2 separate regions of the Homo sapiens genome follow, and region 2 is linked to region 1. The links are contacts of gene promoters, found by promoter capture Hi-C in blood cells and fetal thymus (Javierre and others, 2016). All regions are on one chromosome and are shown on one strand. The core of a region is centred on a gene start or on the middle of the fragment in contact, and the rest is flanking DNA. Distances in the headings are between cores, read along the strand shown. Region 1 holds the start of TNKS1BP1 (tankyrase 1 binding protein 1). Region 2 overlaps LOC105369313 (a long non-coding RNA gene).

Region 1 (7,434 bases), core at 3,395-5,894:
TTCAGACACTACTGGATTCAGGCGCTCAAATCTATTTCTTCCGATTTCCTTAATTAAAAATAGGTTTACCCCATGGGGTGCCCAGTGACTCTCAGAAGCTCAGGGCAGGCTTAATCCTACTGGTTTAAAACAACACCAGAAGTGCCTCTTTTGGTGAACAGCATAGTGAACACAGTGGTTACCTGCCCCTTTCTAGCCTGAGTTATTAGAATGGGCTGGGGTCTGATGGGCCAGAAATAGGCCAAGTGCCCACCCTTAGAGCCTGTGGTTGGGGTAAGCCCTTCCTGAGTGGGGGCAAGGTGGTTCCCAACAGAAAATTGGGACTCTGCTCTCTTAATCCAGAAGGATTGTAAAAGAATGTCGGGCAGCAAAAAAAACACCCAACAGGAGTCCTCTAGTTCAGCCTGCCACATGCTTATGAAGGTTTATGAAGGTTTAATGAGCAAATACTTGTGAAAGTGCCTTGAAGACTGTCCAGCAGCATACAGGTGTAAGGTAGTTGCATTGTTTGAGGAGTTTCACATATATCAGACAAGACTGTCAATTACAGGGGTAGGCACTGGGTTGGACTGAAGTTGGTTTTCCTCTTTTTGTAGTAACTGATTATCTTTTCATCAGAAGACTGTAGGGGCCAATCCTTTTGTAGTTCATAAACATAATGGTTGGGTGTTACGTGCGTGTGTGAAATGTGCCACCCTCCAGCCTTGTTACGATGTTGACACATTACCCATCTGACATGGAAAAAAAAAGAAGACAAAAAAGACTATAGGGTAGATTAAGGTGATTACTCCGAGGGAAGTGGTGAAGTGGATTTGGGCCATGTTCCAGGCATGAATGAGGCAGTGTTTCTGCCAGTGGTGTCCTGGGGATGGACTAGGACCTGGTTTGGCCATGCCCAGGGAGATCCGCTGAAGCTCATTGATTTGTTTTTCATTCATTAATTCCAATCAAGTAACCAATTGCTGTGGCTGGGTCTGGAGAGGGCATGGCTGAAGCCACCACAGTGAATGGGAGAAAGCAGTGTTGGGGATTGGTGGTGGATACTGTCCTCTGGTCTTCCTCCCTTGCCCCTTTTGGGTGGGTATCTTTGGATTTGTCTTCCTCCTGTCCTGAGGCCGTGGGGTCCTGTCTTCCCTCCTCAAGTCTAAGCCTGGCTTGTTCTCTGGCAGGTTTGACAGCAACGCCTCTGCCAGCTCCTCCAGTAATGAGGGTGACAGTGACCGGGATGAGAAGAAGCGGAAACAGCTCAAAAAGGCCAAGATGGCCAAGGACCGCAAGAGCCGCAAGAAGCCTGTGGAGGTGCAGACTGTAGATGGGAGGGCCTGTGTGTGGTGCAGTGGGTGGGGGGCGTGGGAGGCATTCTCTTTACCTTCTCCTGTCCACCACCAGTAGGACCTGTTCTTCCTTGGGGCTGTTTTTTATAGCCAGTGATTATAGCCTTGAGGGTTATCTTCTTGGAAATTTTTCTCACTAGCCCTGAGATTAATAAGCTTCTGGAAGGTCTGAATTAGGAGATGGGCTTCTGTCCTGGTAAGCTAGGCACTGAATTGCAGAGGGGAAGGAGATACTATCCTTGCCCTTAGGGAGCTCTCGTCTCGCCTGATGCTATTTAGTCCTCCACTTTTTCTCCAAGTTAAGTGATCTAAATAATTTATTTGGGAAAATGTATGGGTTCTGTGGGAAATAGCTGAAGGCATTTGGGTTCTTATGTAGGTGAAGAAGGGCAAAGACCCCAATGCCCCCAAGAGGCCCATGTCTGCATACATGCTGTGGCTCAATGCCAGCCGAGAGAAGATCAAGTCAGACCATCCTGGCATCAGCATCACGGATCTTTCCAAGAAGGCAGGCGAGATCTGGAAGGGAATGTCCAAAGAGAAGAAAGAGGTGAGTAGCAGCAGAGGAGGGGTGATGCCTCTCATGGGCTGGCGAGAGGTGCTGTCTTGGGGTGGCGAGTCTCATGACTGATAGGGGAGCAGTATGAGCCATTGGTGGGACTTTCTGTATCGATTTTGCCTGCATCAGGGGAGAGGGGAGATGGGAGAGGTCTTATTCTTAACTGTTTTTTTCTGTGTGTGAGACAGGAGTGGGATCGCAAGGCTGAGGATGCCAGGAGGGACTATGAAAAAGCCATGAAAGAATATGAAGGGGGCCGAGGCGAGTCTTCTAAGAGGTGAGTGTCGAGAACATGGCCCAGTCACTGATTTTTGTGGCAGACTTTTTTTTTTTTAACAGGCCGAAGTTGAGCATTGGAAAGTTAAAGACAGCAGAGATGCTTCTGACTGCAGTAGGGTAGTGCTTCTCAAACCTGGGTAGGCCATTGCCCAAGTATGGGTGACACAATAGGGCATTCAAGTCACTGGGGAAATATGGCCTCTTTTCCTGGACCATTTTATTTGAAGGTATGGGGGAACGAAAAAAATACTATTATGGAGTGCAGTGCACAGTTTGCATGAACTCTAAAAGATAAAGCAAGAAATATCAAGTAGGTTTTGCACATTGGGCTGCTTTAGGCTGTGCCCTCTGATTCTTCTGGTGTACTCATGATACTCTCCCTTGGTGCCCTCCAGGCTGACGCAGCTATTTACGTTCAGAGTGAAATGGGCTGTGTGGCTGGGATTGGGAAAGGCCTTGTTAAAGCTGGGAGAGGTTTGGTCATGGTGACAGGGGACCTGAAGGCCCAGCTCCTCTTCCCTCTTGCCAATACAGGGACAAGTCAAAGAAGAAGAAGAAAGTAAAGGTAAAGATGGAAAAGAAATCCACGCCCTCTAGGGGCTCATCATCCAAGTCGTCCTCAAGGCAGCTAAGCGAGAGCTTCAAGAGCAAAGAGTTTGTGTCTAGTGATGAGAGCTCTTCGGGAGAGAACAAGAGCAAAAAGAAGAGGAGGAGGAGCGAGGTGCGGCAGGAATGTGGGGCCTGTGGGCTGGGCAGGGTGAGGGGCATGTGTGTCTGTGTGGGGTTGGTCTGTAAGAGTAATGAGTTGGAGTGGATGGTGGAATTCTGAGGTTCTGAAGGGGGGTGCTGTAGTTGGGGGCGGTAGGGAATTGCGGGCCCTTCACTGAAGAGTGGGTGGGGCACCCAGGACTCCAGCTTTTCCCTTAAGACACCTTTGGTTTTCAGGACTCTGAAGAAGAAGAACTAGCCAGTACTCCCCCCAGCTCAGAGGACTCAGCGTCAGGATCCGATGAGTAGAAACGGAGGAAGGTTCTCTTTGCGCTTGCCTTCTCACACCCCCCGACTCCCCACCCATATTTTGGTACCAGTTTCTCCTCATGAAATGCAGTCCCTGGATTCTGTGCCATCTGAACATGCTCTCCTGTTGGTGTGTATGTCACTAGGGCAGTGGGGAGACGTCTTAACTCTGCTGCTTCCCAAGGATGGCTGTTTATAATTTGGGGAGAGATAGGGTGGGAGGCAGGGCAATGCAGGATCCAAATCCTCATCTTACTTTCCCGACCTTAAGGATGTAGCTGCTGCTTGTCCTGTTCAAGTTGCTGGAGCAGGGGTCATGTGAGGCCAGGCCTGTAGCTCCTACCTGGGGCCTATTTCTACTTTCATTTTGTATTTCTGGTCTGTGAAAATGATTTAATAAAGGGAACTGACTTTGGAAACCATGTCCTCATGCTTTCTTTGTAGCCTTGGTGTGTTGCTCCCACTTTTATTGGTGGTGTTTACTGCTCTGGTCAGACTGGGCAGGGCCTTCCTGGCCAGCCGGGAAGCAAGTCTCGAGGTACATCCTGTTCTGTTCCCGGCTGGACGAGCATTGGTTTTCACCCGCCTCTGCCCGGATGGGCCACCTGAGAGTCTAGAAATGAGAGCTGATCTGATTAGGAAGTTTCTCCCAGTTACACTCCATTAGCCAACCAAGCTAGGGGGAGGCAGCTCTTGGCTGCATCCTTACCTATGAGTCAAGGGTCTTCCAAGGCTTTCGATAATGAAATCAGGATTGACTGTCCTTCCCGCAGCCGGGGGAGTGGAAACCTGAGCCTGGAGAGTCGGGGAGGATGAGCGTGTGCGTAGAGTGGTGGTGGTTGCAGCCTGGTGGTGGTGCAACAAAGTACGGAGTTATATGTGAAGCTTTTGTTCTTACGGGAAGAAGGGGGTATACAAACTTCAGTGTAGGGAGGAACCCATGTCTGAGAAGGGGCCTAAAAGGAGATAAAGGTCACTAATGAGGAATGCAGAGCTGCCAGACTTCTTCACGGTGGCTCTAAATCTGAATTGACACAGGAGGGTGGCCACGTTGCGCGCGTTCTCAGCACTCAGGTGGTTGTATCAGGAAGCCGCTTCAGTCAGCCGGCGGCTACCTTCTTGCCGGCGTAGCTCGATGATACTGTGCTCTGTGCAGGCGGCGGAGCCCGGGAGGGGCCGCCAAGGCAGTTTCTCTAGGCAGTCGTCTCGGTGGCCATTTTACCCGAGCGCTCCCGGCTGAATTGCGTCAGTTTCGCCCCGGTCTGAGACTGGGGCGGGCCCCTCATCTGCAAGCCTCATGAATAATTGAGTGCTGGGCCGCGCCTGTTTGCCGACGGTGGGACGAATTCTGCACGGGCTTCCCACTCCCGGGTTCCAACCGGCTCATGCATATTCATGAAGCGCCCTGGGGGCGTGGACCTGGGCGGAGTTGGGGCGGGGCCCCGCCGGGGCTCGCAGTGGCTTCGTCCCGCGGTGACGGCGGCGGCGGCGGCGGTAGCAGCGGCGGCGGCGGCGGGGACTGGCATCGGGGCCCCGAGCCGAGCGGAGCCGGACCCCGGGCGAGCGCGTGAGTGCGCGGGGGCGGTCGGGCGAAGGAGGGGGCGGGGTCCGGGATGGGGCGGGGGAGGGGCATGGAAGGAGTGGGTGCTTTCCAGCCGACACCTCGGGTTGAGGTGGTGGTGGTCGGGGGGTCACCAGGAAAGTTTGCAGGGGCCGAGGGCGCTGGGGACGCTGGAGGCCCGGGGGAAGGTGGCGCGTGTGCGCGGAGGCGGAGGGCGCATGGCTTGGAGCTCGTGCTGGCAGAGCCAGAAGAAAGGGGGGAGGGGGCGAGGGCTTGGGGCGGGGCCGGGGGCGGGCAGAGCCGCTGGAGGGACCCCTGCCTCCCCTTCCTCCGGGCCGCGCTAGCCCCCTCCCCCGGCTCCTTCGGCACGCCCCCAGCCACCCCAGTCCGCCCCCACCTGATCGACGTCTGCAGCCCACCGTCTGTTCGCCGGCTGCTTCACAGCCCGCTCACAGGTCCTCCGCTTCTGCCGCCACCGCAGCCCCCTCCTCCTCCTCCTCTTCGGCTGCCGCCGTCCCTTCTGTGTCCAGAGCTCCCCACTGGGCCCCTCCAGACAGCCCATTGCCCGGGGCTGTTCCATCTTCCCGTTGGCCCTCCCTCTTTCCAGCAGTTTACGTGCTGTCCCTGCCGACCTCTCTAGCCTCGGATCCGGCTGGAGATCCTGGGGTCCATAGGGGCGACCCCGCCTGCGCCGAGTCCCCTCCGGGGCTGGAGCTGCCCAGCCCTTCTGGAGGCCTTATCTGCCAGGGGTCAGCTCGTTTCTACCCTGCTACCCTCTACCCCCTGGTCTCTTGAGGGTGGGGAGTGCTCAGAACCGCTGCGAATCGCAGCTTCTGGCCACAGCCTTGGTGGCCTTGGTCACCTGGGGCCCCTGGCTGGGGTCTCTGAGTTGCTGTGGCCACCTCCGCACCTGGGGACTCTGAGCCCGCCTTCATTGCTGCAGCCCCTCATACCGCAGAGGGGCCCATCAGAACCCCAGGTGAAAGGATTTTTTTGGTTCTGAGCCAATTAATTTCCATCTCCAACCACCCACACTATGTTCCTAGTAATAATGTTCAAGGACAAGGAAACAATCTTGTGTTTTAATTTTATTTTTTCTATCATGTGCCCCTCCCCCCACCACACTTGGCCTGGCTCTGCACAGTTATTCACCCACCCACAGTGGGCAGTCTTCCGTGGTGGTTAACTGACCAATGGGTTGACAGTACTGGGTTTCTCTACTGTCTTCATACCCTCTCCCATCTTTGAAACACCTGGGGCAGGGTCAGCGTTAGGGGAGGGGTGTTGGATTTTGCAGAGGATGAGCACTGGGGGTCCCTTTTAAGGATTTGGTGCTGTCTTCCCAGACCAGCTGGAGTGGGTGACTTTAAGTGAGGCAATGCCCCTTGCAGGTTGGAGAAGTTTGGGTTGTCCTCAGGGCTCTGCATACCAGGTGAGGGAAACTTCCGCCTTGCATGAGAGGTGCAGGGCCCTATCCCCCAGGGTCTCCATGTTTTTGTGGGTGGGAGAGTGCTTCAGGAGTCAGGATGGGAACTGAGGAGGTGGTTGGAGTATCTGAAGAACAGGTGACAGGACTAGGGCCTGGGAGAGTGAAGGAATGGTCTGGGAATGCTGGTAGCCTGGGGTCAGGGAAGAGGAGGAGGTGGTTATCAGGGATGTTAGCTCATTGGTGACACTGAATGGAATCACAGTAATAATAGGCAACATTTGTTGAACACTTATTATGTGCTAGGCATTGTGCTAAGCCTATTTCATGTACTATTTCATGTAAGCCCCCTCAGGGTCTCAATAATCCCATTTTTCAGTTGGAGAAACTGAGGCTTGGAGAAGTCACAGGGCTAGAAAGTGGTAGACCCACCCAGCACTGAATCTTGGTATATCAGATCCTGAAGCTCATGTGACAGGCTTCTACCACCAGGCTGTGCCTCTTGGTTTAATTTCTTCTGTCCCCCTCAGAACTCCTTAAAGCCAACCCTAGGCTGGTGAGTGAAGCCCACATAACCCCTTTTCATACATAGGCTGTGGCTGCTCCACCCTGACTGTCGTGGAAGGTGGAGCCCCAGGGAATTTTCCCCCAAGTCACTCCACCCCCCGGATGTTCTCAAGCCCTGTCCCGTTCTCCCAGCCCAGGCCTGGGCCGGCTCCTCCTTCCTCTTGGCTAGGCCCTGGAAATCCAGTGGGAGGCCATTGCTATGGCAACAGGACTAGGCCCTGGCTTTACCTCATCAAATTCCAAGCTGAAGCCAAGCGATTGAGAAATTAAAGAAAAAAATATATTCCAGATGTTTACTTTTTATTCCTTATTTTTCCGTGTTTGGATGAGACAGTTCTGAGGGAGGGGAGAGAGTGGGGCAGGGATGTGGAAGGAGAACAGGGAGAGGGGGGAGAAGGAACCACTCCCAGCTGCGGGAGGGAGGGAGAGAGGGAAGGAGGGTGAGTGGGAAGGGGGAGGCAGGCAGTGGGGCGGAGCCCAGGTTGGGGAGGAGCGGGTTTTTCCCGTCTCCCGTGAGGTGATTCACAGACAGACTTCATACTTTGCAGCTCTCTAGCTCTGCTTTGAGTAGACACCTCCAGCGGGGCCGTCCTACCCAAGGGGCACTGTGGGGACTGTAAGTGGGGTGTCTTGGAGAGCTTGTCAGAGGAGGGAGCAGTGAGTGACTCCCTGAAGCGCTAGGACTTTGGGG
Region 2 (7,171 bases), core at 3,003-5,502, 1.2 Mb before region 1:
AGCCAGTTCTTATGAAACTAGCCACATCGTGTGTGTGTGATGGTCATCCAAAAAGGACAAGCTACACTATCCCCTTCTTTTTGTGTCACCAATCAAATTGCTGCTGTTACTCTTCAAGGTAAGCTAAAGTCCAGCAGAGCTGAAGCATTTTTCTCCTTTAATTCCTGTTTTCTCCTTTTTCCTCCTCTCTTCTCACATTTTCTCCCTCACTTCTTCTGAGTCTGCTCCCACTCACTCTGCTACTAGGAGTGGGGAAAGCCTGTGAACACCTCAGGTTGAGGAACAAAAATAGGAGAGAAAGAATGCTCTAAAATGAGGACAGAAACCTGTCTCCAGGCCTGACCATCTGCAAACTCACTGTTACTCCTGAATATTTTTCATATGACAAGTCTAAGCTAATATTTTGGCCCAAAGCACAAACCTGGTAGACAAGAGGATGATAGGATGTTTGTTGTGGGATTAAAGAGCATGAAAAATATTTCCATACTTTCCTATTGATGTTCTGTTTGATTCACCAAATATTTACATACATGTGTGAGGGGCCATGGTAAGGAGAGTGGACCAGAGGGGATGAAGATAGTTACTGTCCCAAGGGGCTTAGAGCTAGGTGAAGAGTGAGTGGTTGCCCAGCTAATTGTGCAATAATCAGCCAAGACTCAAGTGCTTTGAGGAGGGAGAGAAAGGAGGACTTAACTGGAATTAGGGTCTACAGCAAAGACTTCTGATAAGGGGTGAAAAAAGACATATGCATATACACAGATACACAAAGCCATTTGTATATATCAAATTTATAGTTTTATATTAAATATATATAAATACATACTCATATTTACATATACCATACTCCCTTTCAGTTGAACTACTGTTGAGGGATTAATTTATAAAGGCTTCAAAAGTTGTGGTTAAGATCTTTGGATTTAGTATCAAACAGACCTTGAGGGCACCACCTTGTCCTGCCAACACCTTGATTTTGGCCCAGTGAAACTGATTTGAGGCTTCTGGCCTCCAGAATTTTGAGAGAATAAACTTGTGTTGTTTTAAGGAAAAATAAATTTAGAAAATCTTTAGTGAGGCTATATTATTGGAAGTAGAATGTGGAAGACAATAAGTGATGGATGTTTTTATTTTTAATAATTAAATACATACAATCTTATATCCACATCATAATTTGTATTTATATGATGTAAATGTGTTAAAGAATTCAAGATGAATGTATGAACTTTAGATTCAGAAATATAAAGGGGTGAACTTTGATTCTGACCCCTAGATAGGCTATCTTGCTCAATATTCAGCTCCCTGAGCCTTAACTTCCTTATCTGTAAGATGGGCATAATAGCACCTATCTCATATGAATTAAAAGCTATAATATAACAGAGGGTTCTAGGATGAGTGTTACACACAGTACATTCTCTCTATACATTAGTTTTCTCCTTTTTTATCATTCCATCCTCCCTTCTCATACTTTCATTGGAATTTTGTTGACGCCTCTTCTTTAATCACCAGGCTAATTCAAGCTGGCCACAATGGAGAATAGCACAGAAGTGACAGAGTTTATCCTCTTGGGATTAACAGATGACCCCAATCTTCAGATACCCCTCCTCCTGGCATTTTTATTCATCTACCTCATCACCCTGCTTGGGAATGGGGGAATGATGGTGATCATCCACTCAGACTCCCATCTCCACACTCCAATGTACTTTTTCCTCAGTAACCTCTCCCTTGTAGACTTGGGTTACTCATCAGCTGTAGCCCCCAAAACGGTGGCTGCATTGCGGTCAGGGGACAAGGCCATCTCCTACGATGGATGTGCAGCTCAGTTCTTCTTCTTTGTGGGGTTTGCCACTGTTGAGTGCTACCTCCTGGCCTCCATGGCCTATGATCGCCATGCAGCGGTATGTAGGCCTCTTCATTACACCACCACCATGACAGCAGGTGTGTGTGCCCTCCTTGCTACTGGTTCCTATGTCTCTGGCTTCCTCAATGCCTCTATCCATGCAGCAGGCACCTTCAGACTCTCCTTCTGTGGTTCTAATGAGATTAATCATTTCTTCTGTGACATTCCCCCACTCCTGGCTCTCTCATGCTCTGACACACGCATCAGCAAGTTGGTGGTCTTTGTGGCAGGCTTCAACGTCTTTTTCACCCTCCTGGTCATCCTTATTTCTTACTTCTTCATATGCATCACCATTCAGAGGATGCATTCTGCTGAAGGGCAGAAGAAAGTCTTCTCCACCTGTGCTTCCCATCTCACTGCTTTGTCCATCTTCTATGGCACAATCATCTTCATGTACTTACAGCCCAACTCCAGCCAGTCCGTGGACACAGACAAAATAGCCTCTGTGTTTTACACAGTGGTGATTCCCATGCTGAATCCCTTGATATACAGCCTTAGGAACAAAGAAGTGAAAAGTGCTCTCTGGAAAATACTCAACAAACTTTACCCCCAATATTAAATGTGAATGGGAAGTAGGCAAGCAATTAAGGGATAAACTTTCTCTCACACCTAAATGCCATCATGACTTTTAACGTTTGACTGGTTTCAGTTCTTTCTTCCCCAAGAACAGCGGTTACTTCTGCTATTAGAAGATGTAAAAAGCAGCACGTTGAAAGTCTTACTTAGAAAGATAATCTTATATTTAGTGAACAACAACATGGGACAGTTAAGCTTTTCTTGCTTTAGTTTCTTGACGTGGTTTAAAGCAGAAGATTGAAGCATACAAATGAATGTACCAAATTTTCCTCATCCTGTTTTTAATTGTAAGAATTTTTCATTCACTATTAAACTTGGTGTAAAGATTTCACCTTCATTTTTATCAACTGAACACACAGTATCTTTTTTATTCTTTTGTTCTGCGAGTTTGAAAGTTGGACTTTCTGAGGTAGACAAAGGATGTTTCAATATTTTAAATGATATTTGAGAGAAAGTTGTAATTTAAAGGACAAGGCACTAGATCGAGTCAGGTAGCTGACGATTAAATCTTTCCAACCCCTTACTCTCCCTTCTCTACCCACATTCCTATCCTACTCACTAGTCATGTGCCTTTGTAATTTCCATTCCCTTTTGCTAAATCATTGGGGAAACATTACACCTTGTTATATACAGAAATATGGGAATGCTTTAATAGATGAATTACTTCAACTTTAACCTGACTAAATACAACTTCCTTCGGAGAGCCTACACTATCTTTTATGTTTCTTGTCTCTGTCTAACATAATTACCAAAACTTCCAGAAGGTTTAGAGAAAAAAAGCAGTTTTCCCTAGAGCTATGAAAAAATATATTTGTTTTCTGAATTAAATGCTTGCATTTCTTAGCACCCTTAAGTTTGGTGAATCTATTATGAAGATATATAATAGCTTTCTGGACTGTCTTTGCTTTTACTTTTTCAATAATTCAGCTCACCTCTGGGTCTCCATTGCATTCCGGTGTTCTGTAATTAGATGCTACAAGAATAAAAAAGCCTGCCTGGAAATTTACTTCTTAGGAACAGCACGGTGACGCACAGTGCTAGTACACCTTCAGGTCTTGTTTCATGTGCTAGATGGTGTGAGCAAATGTGTGTGTGTGGGAAGGGAGTGGTGATTAATTTCACTTCTCACGTATCAACTCCTTGATGGTGTTTATAACTACAGTTAATCTAAGTCACCACAATAGATCATGATTTCAAAATCTCCCCAAAAAACCCAACAAATTAATTTTGACCTTATAGATGAAAACCAGAAATCTTGGTTGGCTAACTCAGTTGGCTTAAAATGTCAATTTAGTTTTCAGATTATCAAGCTCCATTATGTACAGGGCAGCCTCTGTCTGAGGAGGATAAATCATAAGTCTTCTGGGAAAAATTGCAAAGAAGGAGTTATGGAACATGAGAAACATGAGAATAGCTTTCTCTGGCACATGGTTGCCATCACCTGAAAAGATCAGGAGCTTCTGAGCCCAAGGCCTAGACAACCTATACCTCCCCCATTCAGCCCCCTCCCTCCCCTCTTCTTTAGCAATGAGGCCTATTCAGCAACACACAGGAAGAACAGCCTTTACAGGCCAGGATCCACTGCATATAGGAATCTTTCTCATTGAAATCTACAGAGCTCAAGAGTATCTGCATTTGGAGAAGAGCCTGGGAAGCAGCTATCCAAGCACTGGGTGCATTCCAATCTCAGGTACACATTTTCCCTACTTGATATAATTGACTTTTTTCCCTCCTCATCCTGCTCCTCCTTCTTTACTTCATTTTATCCTTCTCCTCTTTTTCTTTCCCAACTTCTTTCTATGCCCAGCCCAAGCAGGAACTTTCCTCACCACTAGGCCATTTAGATTTCTATAAAAAAATTAAAGTCTAGAGTCTATATATCATAACCATTACAGTATATATTAAGATGTGTATCTGGGCATGTTTATTTCTTTTATGGTTTTAATTTTTATTTCATTAGTTTTGGGGGTACAGGTTGTTTTTGGTTACATGGATAAGTCCTTTAGTGGTGGTTTCTGAGATTTTAATGTGCCCATCACCCGAGCAGTGTGCCCAATATATAGTCTTTTATTCCTCACCTCCCTCCCAACCTTCCCCCATCGAGACCCCAAAGTCCATTTTATCATTCTTATGGACATATTTTGTTATGCCTCTATACCTCAGTTTAGGCAGGAAAATGTGGGCCTCCTGAGATTTAAGGGCTCAATGTCTACATATTTATATTTTATGTTGAAATCACCTCAAACAAGTGTTCTATCTGACTGTAAATAGGTATAAAAGAGTACTATCAAAAGCTGGATGAAAATTCTAACTGTTCTTATCAATTGTGTGACCTCAAGAAAGTCATTTAGTCTTACTGAACCCAATATACAGGATAAAGTGTGAGGGTAATATGAAATTAAGTATGTGAATGTGCCCATCATAATGAATGTGTATTTCATACCATTGAGATTTCTATACTAGCTCTTTCTTCACTTAGCTCTCCCTGGACTTCTTATTTTGGCTCTTGAGCTGCCTGAGCAAAAATAGGAAGTCCAAGGACTGATAGGTGAAGCTCGTCCCATCCAAATCCTAGCTTTTATTTTCATTCCTTGTTTAACTTCCTGCCCTCCAAGTTCCCAGCTCTACAGCAGACATATTTCAAGCTGACATTACACGGGTATTCATTTATAGAAACTACTCAGAAGGAGATGTCCTGTCGCCAGCAAGACATCAATTCACAGAGTATACGTTACTGCAAGGAGCTCTTCCCTTCCACATAGGAAATCTGTCAAATGGAGACTAAATGCCCATTTGGTTAATAACAACACCCACTTGCTCCCTGCAGGAATTGTCTGATGAATGAGAGACCTTGTGCGTAGGGCCTGCCGCTCAATGCAGTGCAATAAAGGCACAGGGACTTCCTACCTGAAATGTTCAAAAAAGAATGTGAAAATTCATAAATCAGGGCAGTTATTTATATCAGGATAGATTATTCTTTCAAAAATGGATTATGATTGAATTATTCTAAATAGGATGTTCCCTTTGTGCATTAAAGCATTTGTTGAGGTTTATGTATTGGGAGTGGAAAATTAAAATATTAAATTCCTTGGCAATTGAAGCTGGAATTGCGGAGTCATAGACTCTTTAGCCAAAAGCTGAAAGAATTTAAAACTAATCTAAACCAATCCTCTCATTTCACAATTAAAAACCCCGATTTTTACAGTTTAACTTGCTTAAACTCACAAAGAACCAAATCTTGTTTGACCCTTTTTTATATTTTATAAAGTACTTGTGGTATAAAAAGAAATTTTATACTTTTACCTTCATTTATTCACCATGATATAGTTATTTGTGCTTCAGTTTTGCAGTGGAGGAAACCAAAGCTTTGAGAAGTTAACTTACCTGTCTACTGTTAAAAAGAGGAACCGAGGTGTGAAACTGAGTTTTTGCCTTCCCTGACCAAGACTCTGAAAAAATAAGTCACCAAGTACGTTAGTAAATTTCAATGGAGGTCTTACTTAATGTGTAACTCACTTACACTCTTCCATAATGAGTCCTTGCCATGTGGAAGGCACTCTGAAGAATACAAATAAGACTGTAAGATGTAATTCCTACTTCCACAAAGTAAAGCCCCCTGCATATATGTTTACTGATGTAATGCACCTTAAGGTTAATGACTCAATGTTCAGTAACTACCAGCAGGAATTTTCCCAGTATTCCACAGAGCATGAATGGATCAGGGCATATTTGTTTTCAGTCTTGATAGAGTTGGCTCTTTGAGTGCCGCAGCCGACAGTGATAGCCCAGCCTCAGCCAATGTTAACTAGACACAAGCTGCAGAAAAGGCATGGTGTGAAGTTGATGAAGAAACCAGTTGATATTCAATATTGTTCCTGCTTCAGGAGCAACTTACAAATAACGTGGTGGAACAGAGGACATACGTCTAGGTAGATGATAGTTCAAAGACATTTGTGGCCATTATCAAATGAATAGTCTAGAAAATAATAATTAGAACTCATCAGGGACAAGAAAGAATCCTATGGGCAGGGGAAGATCCTCAGAGGATGTGGGATGTGAGCCAAGCTCTGAAGGAATAATGTAGATGGAACCCAGAATTCCAAGATTCCAACCTTACTTTCTAGTCAAAACTCTACCAATTGCCAGTGGTGAAGCTGGTATAAGCCACGTATCTCTGAGCCAATTTTCTTATCATCAAAGTGAAGACAATAGCACCAGCCATACCTTCCTTAGGGCGTTTTGCAGGCTAAATGAGATAGTGGGTGAGAAAGCATCTTCAGAATTGCTACCCTCTTTTGAACTATAGTGTTGCTGTTGGTAATAACATAAGCAGAGCTGAATGGGGAGTTCCTAAGCAACCATCTGAACTCGGGTATGGAGGTGGGATTGCACATGGCATGTTGGCAGGAGCTTGTAGGAAAGTTGGTCATTCAGATTAGAAGAGGGTCAACCACTAATGCCTCAGTCCGTTACTTTTACAGGCAATTGAAACTTGTTGTCATCAAACAAGGTGAAGAGACTGGGCCTTTGAGAATAATTGCATCTCTATAGAGAAATCATGCTTTTACAGAAAAATTTCTGTAGGATCTCACCTATCAGGTATCTAGATCCAAGCCTGAGAATTCTCCCTCCTGTTCATAACATGGAATTTCTCAGTTGTTAGCCTGTGATTATTTCACAAAATGTGTGGGGGGAGGGATA

What was found. Contacts are between HindIII fragments. The CHiCAGO score rates a contact against its expected background, and 5 or more counts as called.
Region 2: a contact is called between a fragment that was not itself captured here and the fragment with the promoter of TNKS1BP1 in region 1, in 2 of 17 cell types (total CD8 T cells and naive CD8 T cells). The highest score is 6.4, in total CD8 T cells.

What each region holds. Positions count from the first base shown.
Region 1 is chr11:57,322,162-57,329,595 of GRCh38, reverse strand. It overlaps TNKS1BP1 (tankyrase 1 binding protein 1), which reads left to right and starts at 4,644. Exons shown (of 12, transcript NM_033396.3): 1 at 4,644-4,756. SSRP1 (structure specific recognition protein 1) reads left to right here. Exons shown (of 17, transcript NM_003146.3): 13 at 1,170-1,299; 14 at 1,714-1,884; 15 at 2,082-2,170; 16 at 2,707-2,893; 17 at 3,118-3,608. The coding sequence ends at 3,189. LOC124902831 (small nucleolar RNA U13) reads left to right here and starts at 635; the gene lies at 635-737. RefSeq lists enhancers at 3,478-4,351, 4,381-4,430 and a silencer at 4,561-4,840. The HindIII fragment of the contact is 11,807 bases long and covers 4,077-7,434 here.
Region 2 is chr11:58,502,458-58,509,628 of GRCh38, reverse strand. LOC105369313 (a long non-coding RNA gene) reads left to right here. Exons shown (of 5, transcript XR_007062673.1): 3 at 4,087-4,160. It overlaps OR5B21 (olfactory receptor family 5 subfamily B member 21), which reads left to right and starts at 1,524. Exons shown (of 1, transcript NM_001005218.3): 1 at 1,524-2,822. The coding sequence starts at 1,524. The coding sequence ends at 2,453. The HindIII fragment of the contact is 3,170 bases long and covers 2,668-5,837 here.